2 separate regions of the Homo sapiens genome follow, and region 1 is linked to region 2. Evidence: promoter capture Hi-C in human tissues and cell types (Jung and others, 2019). All regions are on one chromosome and are shown on one strand. Each heading gives the region's core, a stretch centred on a gene start or on the middle of the fragment in contact. The rest is flanking DNA. Distances are from core to core; before and after follow the strand shown. Region 1 has its middle 56 kb from the start of NPY1R. Region 2 holds the start of NPY5R (neuropeptide Y receptor Y5).

Region 1 (3,512 bases), core at 927-3,426, 67 kb before region 2:
GTTTCTGTTATAGCAGCTTAGCTTTTACCCAAATCAATACAGTATATATCACAAAATTACTTGAATTTTCTGCATTTATTTTAGTTTTAAATTTAAAGATGACTTTTTAAACAACAAGAATATATATTTGAGCAATTTAGGATTCAGCGAAGTAGAGTCTATTTTGCTTATTCTCACTTATCTTGTTCAATGATCTCAGCAGACGCTACAATACAAGCACACAGAGAAGAGCAGATGGCCTGGAAAAAGAATCAAAGCAAATTTGGCATTCATTGTTACTGTAATTGCCACTTCTTTTTCTTTAAAATGAGAAAAATTATTATAGTTAGGTTTTGGAAATTTTCCTACAGACCTAGTGAAATCCAGGGGTGTTCCGAGACAGAGACTAGAAGAAAATCCTCTCATCCTTGCCCACTCTGTCCCACTAACTAATGAAGCCACCTGAAAATTGCCTGTGGAATAATTAGGTGAGGACTTTGCATTCATGAACTAGCTTCTGCAGCCTTTAATCCACCCCTGACTCTCTAGGAACAAACCAGACATTGGCAACATGTGGCAGGCTTAGGTTTATTTTTCGAAAGTATTTAAGGATTTTTTTGATTCTTTCTTTCTAAAGTCTTCTTAGGTTTATTTTAAATTCTAGGATCAAAATGATATAGTAATACTTCAGTTAGCCAGATTACCTGGGTAAAGTTTAGTCCTGTTAACTGGTGGTGTTTTTTGGGTGGTTTTGTTGTTGTTGTTGTTGTAGTTGTTGTTGTTGTTGTTTTTGAGGCAGAGTCTCACTTTGTCACTCAGGCTGGAGTGCAGTGGGACGATCTCAGCTCACCTCTGCTTCCCAGGTTCAAGCAATTCTCCTGCCTCAGCCTCCTGAGTAGCTGGGATTACAGGCGTGCACCTCATTGCCCCGCTAATTTTTTTATTTTTAGTAGAGATGGGGTTTCACCATGTTGGCCAGGCTGGTCTCAACCTCCTGACCTCAAGGCAGGCAGCCACCTCAGCCTCCCAAAGTGCTGGGATTACAGGTGTGAGCCACCACACCCAGCCTGGAGTTTAATGAAATGAAACAGGTTATTTTCATTTCAAAAATTGTTACTGAAAAATGTTTACAAATTCATTAGTGAATCAAGCGTTCCCACATAAAACCTAATTTCAGTGACCCTTATCCTAAACCTACCTGGAGTAGTGTATGGGTCTGTCCCTAGTGTGGTTACATAAAGCGCCAAGGTTCCTCGCCATAAGCAGTTTATTCCAAGAAAAAAAGAGTATCAAGAAGCATAGTTCAAGTTCTGAAAAGAAGCATGTTTCTAAACAGAGTTCTCAGATTGTCCTTTAATTCGGTCTCCATGAACACACACCTGAGTCCACAACAAGGCAGTTGCAATAAAAATAGGAGAAGAAAGAAAGAAAGAAGACCTGCACAGTGTGGAGCATGTGTTTGGATTTCAAACATGAGATGATGCCAACACCACAGACATTAGCACCCTTCACACTAGCAACCTGCATTTGCTGCCTGGGCATCAGTGGCCATTAGTGTCAGGAAAGGCTGCCTTAATCTTTAGAGGATTTATGACTAAAAATATTAGGGGCATTTTCTCACATGGAAATTAAAAAATAGTAATTCCAAACTGCTAAATACATGTAAGTAAATTTAAATAGAAATTCTGATTTTTGCCATAAAAAATCACGATTTTAAAAATAATTAATGTTAAATTATTTACAGAAATTTTTCTGATGCCATTTTTTTTTAGTTTCCTAAGCATGTGTTTCCCTTCCTATTTGCTAATCTAGGTTGGCTTTAATGGCAGTCCCGTAGAAGTGGGGAAAGTTGAGCATCAGTACTCTCAGCATTAATAGCATCTCGCTCAGAACAAAGATGCCTATGCCACCAGAAGGCATCAGTAGAGACAGAAAGCACAGACAGGGCAAGCTACAGCAGGAGAAGAGAAGCTTAGCAGGCACCACAGGTCATCAGGAGTACTAGTTTATCTAGCACACTTGGGAAACTGTCTGCAGTCTACAAGAACTATTCAGGAGGAATTTGTTAGGAGTCTAGAGTTTCTGCAGAGCAGTTGAGAAAAGAGAGAAAAATGGGTTTATAATAAGAATTGTGAGTCTATTTTTACTTTCAGGTTGATATGATCGGGGGGCATCTATATAAATGTGCATAAGATATGTGTGTGTAATAGAAGATAAAGAATATATTGCAAATAATTGAGTCTTGGTGATCGAAAACCTTGAGGTGCCATAATCAGAAATCATTGAACATTGCTTGTATTATAAATTAGCCTCAATGTACAAAAAGAATGCAGAGGTGATTGTATTTAATGTGCAACCTGCCATAATGTTCTGAAAGCTATTTTCTCTTGTATTCAATTTTCCATCATTGTGTTTTTGTTCTTGTTGTTTAAGGCTGCCAAGAATATTTCTGGTAAACATTTCAATTCAATTCAACAAGCATGTATTAAGCACGTACAATGTGTCAGTCAAAATTCAAGGTTTTGGTATGTAGATATGATTAACACATAGTCTTTATGTTCTAAAACCTCACAATGAAAAGATACACTAAAAAAATGACTAGAGACAGTATGACTAGGTTTAATCATATATAAACCGAATAAGTTGAAGTAGCCACAATAAAGTAGCAGCATATAAAAAAATACTTACTTTACTTGAGATATGTGGGGTTTCAATGAGAAACTACTTCTAAATGTAGGTATTGATCGATCTGTCCTGGGTGAAAAATAGAAGTCGGCCAGGCAATTAAGTAGGGGGTGGGATCCATGAGATTGTGAACAAAGTGACAGGGGTGTGAGAACATTTGGCCACTTGAGAAACTGAATGTACCTAGGTGTGACTGATGTGAAGGATATGTGTGGACATTTTGGGAGGTAAGCTTGAAAGGGTAAGCAGGGAGTTGAAATTAATCCTGAACATATGAGAAGCTGCTCATATTAGTAGTATATTAGGATTTGCAGGTGAGGAAATCCACCTCGCAGCTGTTTGGAAGGTAGATTTTAAATGATAATGAAGACACCATTACAGAAGTCTATCAAGAAATGACAGGCTGGGTGCGGTGGCTCATGCCTATAATCCCAGCACTTTGGGAGGCCAAGGCAGGTGGATCATGAGGTCAGGAGATGGAGACCATCCTGGCTAACCCGCTGAAACCCCATCTCTACTAAAAATACAAAAAATTAGCCAGGCGTGGTGGCGGGCGCCTGTAGTCCCAGCTACTCGGGAGGCTGAGTCAGGAGAATGGCGTGAACCCGGGAGGCGGAGCTTGCAGTGAGCTGTGATTGCGCCACTGCACTCTAGCCTAGGCGACAGAGCAAGACTCCATCTAAAAAAAAAAAAAAAAGATAGAAAGAAATGACAAACCATTCCAAGTATGGCCTTGGCACTAAGGTAGAAAGGGAAGAAAGAATTAAAATATTTCAGAGGTAATGTTTGGGGAAAAGGAGAAAGAAATTTAATTCTCATTTTTTTCTGGCAATTGATGATTCCACTAA
Region 2 (3,464 bases), core at 403-2,902:
TTTAATATGCAAAAGCCTGTAGCATAGACTAGTGTTTTGAAAGTCACAATGGGGTTCACTTGGAATTTGTTTTAAAGACAATGTGTATTTGAAGTGTACATGTTATGACTGTGCAAGAGATGGAAAGATAGAAATTTATGTGGCAATGTGTACTGCATTAACCGCAGAGACAGTGGAGTTAAGAAAGTCTAAAAAACAAGCCTTATTTTCTCAAGGTCATCCCTTCTTGACACTTTCATCCCCTACTCCTTACTGCAGAATCCCAGGTGCCTGCTCAGACGGCCTATTCTGTTAAGCTTTTGGGGAGAATATATTAATATTTCAGAAATAACACACAGAAGAATAAAACAGGAACTGTGTTTACTTGAGTTCTTTAAAAGCTCTTGGATGACTCTTTGACTGATGAAATAGCAATCTATACAGATCCCCTGAGTATTGAATGCTGAAATCCAGCAGAAAGGGGACACAAAAAATTTTCTTTGACCTCTTCTGTAACAGTGATGTCTGCCCCAGATGTTAGAATTACAAGTCACATTGCTCCCAAGGGGTACAGTTCTCTTCGGTTTATCCCACACGACTCTACTCAGCAGGAGATGCTGTCTGTTACATAATAGTTCTCAGTATTAAAGGGTACAATAACTACACCCTTTCTCATGGTAAAGCTATGTCCAAAGACACATGGACATCTACCCAATGTCTCTTTTCTCCCTTCTCTCCTTCTCTCTCTCTCTCTCTCTCACAGACACACACACACACACACACACACACACACACACACACGCGCGCGCGCCTAAAGTACCTGCCACCTAATGATTAGCTAAAAATAAAGCAAACCTGCGCAATACAGATTTGGAAACATTAGGGATGGAAATCATGTTGGGAAGGAACAGAAGGACAGGTTTTCTCTTCTTCTTTTGTGTGGGCTTTTTTCCCGTCTTTTTTTTTTTTTAACCTGTGACAATTCGTTTTTAGCCCTTCGTCTTCTCTTTGCTATTGAATATAGTCTTGAGCAGCGTTGATTTCATTTCAGCTTCACTCCCCTGCTCCTGCCACTTGCCCACACCCACAGCTGCCACTCCTTGGAGTGGGGAAACTTCCCTTCTATTCTGCTGGGCTCATTACCGCAGACGCTGTTGCCTCTCCTGAACATTGGGTCAGCCTCCCCACCTCCACTCTTCCTTACTTCAAAGAGGTGCAAAGGAAGAGCAGTGTTTTGTCTTTTTTCTTTCTTTCTTTCTATCACCACACCACCCCCCACCGTCCCCCACCCCAAACAAAGATAAAACCTGAGAGTCGAAGCTTGTTCTCAGGAATACTAAGAACTTAGGGGCACAGCCATCCTCACACCAGTCCAAGACTTCTCAGAGTTCACTACACAGGGTTGAGGGCTGGACCGGCAAAACTCGATTTGCCCATCAAGTTAACTTGGTCGGCCTGGGACCCGAGGCCAGGGTGAAGGGACGACATCCCGGGGCCCTGTGGCTTCTCCCTAGAGCGCCCAAACAGCGGCGTAGGTCTGGGACGCCCCCGGCCCCCGGCTTTGGAAGAGGCTGGCGCGGAGCAGGCGCCTTGGAGCAGGGTCTCGGGGGTCCCCGGAACAGTCACGTGTTCTCGAGACGCCGTTAAACCCCCGCCCCCTCTTCCCCACCGCCGCCTCCAGGTCCTGCTCCCGCTGCTGCCGCCACCGCCGGGGTGCAGGAGCGATCGCGCTGGGCCGCGCTCCCGGGAGCCCAGGGCCTGCAGCGGCCGGGGCGCCCCGAGGTACGGGCTCCCGCCCCTCCCTGCCAACCCCTTTCGCGCCGGGTAGGCCTGCACCGAGGGGCCGTGGCGGGTCCCCGCGCGGGCTGCGAGTCTGCGCAGGTCCCTGGGAGCCCGCACCCGTCTCTGGTGCCAGGGCGTTGTCGGGGGTCCCAAGAGAGCGGGGTGGGGAAGGTGAAGGGAGCGCGGCTGGAAAAATGGGGATTAGGGTGGCGGAACAGGCACTTGTCAGGAGTGAAGAGACAGCGGAGAGGGTACTGGGCTGAATTCTTTCGTGCCGAGCAGGTCCCTCCGGTTCCCAACTCACCCGGGTGGAGCAGGCGCGGGCCGAACCCGGGAGGAGAGTGTCGGGGATCCGCGAAGGAGCCTCCTGGGGATGGGGCGGGGGATGGACAAAGCGCTGCCCCCGGCTGGACGCGCTCTGGCTGCAGCCCGGCTGGCATCCGGAGCTGGGAACAGCAGCCCGCGGGGTGCCCGGGTCAGGGCTCAACCCTAGCGGGTCTCTGGCGAGGCCGGGGGCGCAGCCCGCGGGGCGCCACTCAGGCCGTCCAGCTGCCGCGCGGTCCAGCGCTGACCCGAGCCCGGGAGGCAGCTGCGCTCTAAGGTTTGCGCTCCTGTTTGCGAGGTGTCTTCATATAACAAATGCGAGCAATAACAAACATCCATAGAACTCGAATTCCAGAAACGGGAATTCTTTTTTCCAAGTTCACAGACCTTTAGTTAATCTTTTAAAGGAACTGAGGCGTTGTGTTGGACCAAAGCCAAAACGATTTTACCTTAGACCATGGAAAATAGCCTAAGGCTCTTTCAGCAGAATTTTGCAGTCCGAATGCAATTTTAGATTTCAGATTTCTCAAGGGAAGAGAAACTCTGCTGTTAGAATTTGGAAGGGAGGGTGGTGCATGCCTGTGTGTTTGTCAGCTGAGCAGAGCTGTATTTATCTTTCCAATTCAAATTGTGCCAGATTCTGGCTTTAAGAACAAACCATGGGAATATTTGAGAACATGGAATCATGCTGCTGTTCCACGATCACAGCAAAACAGACAATAGTTGATATTGTATCATTGCAGGAGGAAAAAGAATTACATATATTTTATTCTTTTGTGTGATTGTCATCCTTTGTGAAAAGAATGATGTGTATTTTCATAAAGCAAAAAATTATTCAAACAAAGAAACCTTATTTAAATGTACAAGTCAGACTTTTAATATCCTTTGAATTCCCTGCAGTTCCTCCTATTATTCTTGAGAACTATCTACTTTCTTAAAATACTTAAAATCTATTCAGAAGGTTTCATTTGTCTAGGTGTCAGATATAGAAGAGTTTATAAGAAAATTCCAGTAAACCTTTAAAAAGATATTATTTTTTATAAGTTGCCATAGTTTAATAAAGAACTTTTATTTTTCACACTTTTTACTCAGAGATTAAAGTTCTGTGTTTCAGCCTGGAAATTCTGATGGTGGGAGATACAACTAATACAAAAGAGAATGAGTAAATATAGTAATTAGGTATGACAAAAGTCTCATGCTGTCAATATCAGATTTCTTGTCAAATAATATTCCATGTTAAAATATTTTTTCTCTGGCTATATTTCATAATTTATATAGCAATTTCAGAAGATTCACATATATCATTACTTTTATAATAGATAAAATATGTTGCATAAAAATGTACAGCACTCGTAATAACACTTGTTGAAATTTGGATT

What was found. The method cuts DNA at HindIII sites, captures the fragments that hold promoters and counts their contacts. A contact is called where the count stands out against the background at its distance.
Region 1: a fragment that was not itself captured here is called in contact with the fragment with the promoter of NPY5R in region 2 in 2 of the 25 tissues and cell types used here (H1 embryonic stem cells and spleen).

The regions. Positions count from the first base shown.
Region 1 is chr4:163,274,833-163,278,344 of GRCh38, forward strand. No RefSeq gene overlaps it. Among named protein-coding and RNA genes, the nearest start is that of NPY1R, 56 kb to the right of the region's middle. The HindIII fragment of the contact is 3,613 bases long and covers 371-3,512 here.
Region 2 is chr4:163,342,240-163,345,703 of GRCh38, forward strand. It overlaps NPY5R (neuropeptide Y receptor Y5), which reads left to right and starts at 1,653. Exons shown (of 4, transcript NM_006174.4): 1 at 1,653-1,761. It also overlaps a transcript of NPY1R not described here. The HindIII fragment of the contact is 9,678 bases long and covers 798-3,464 here.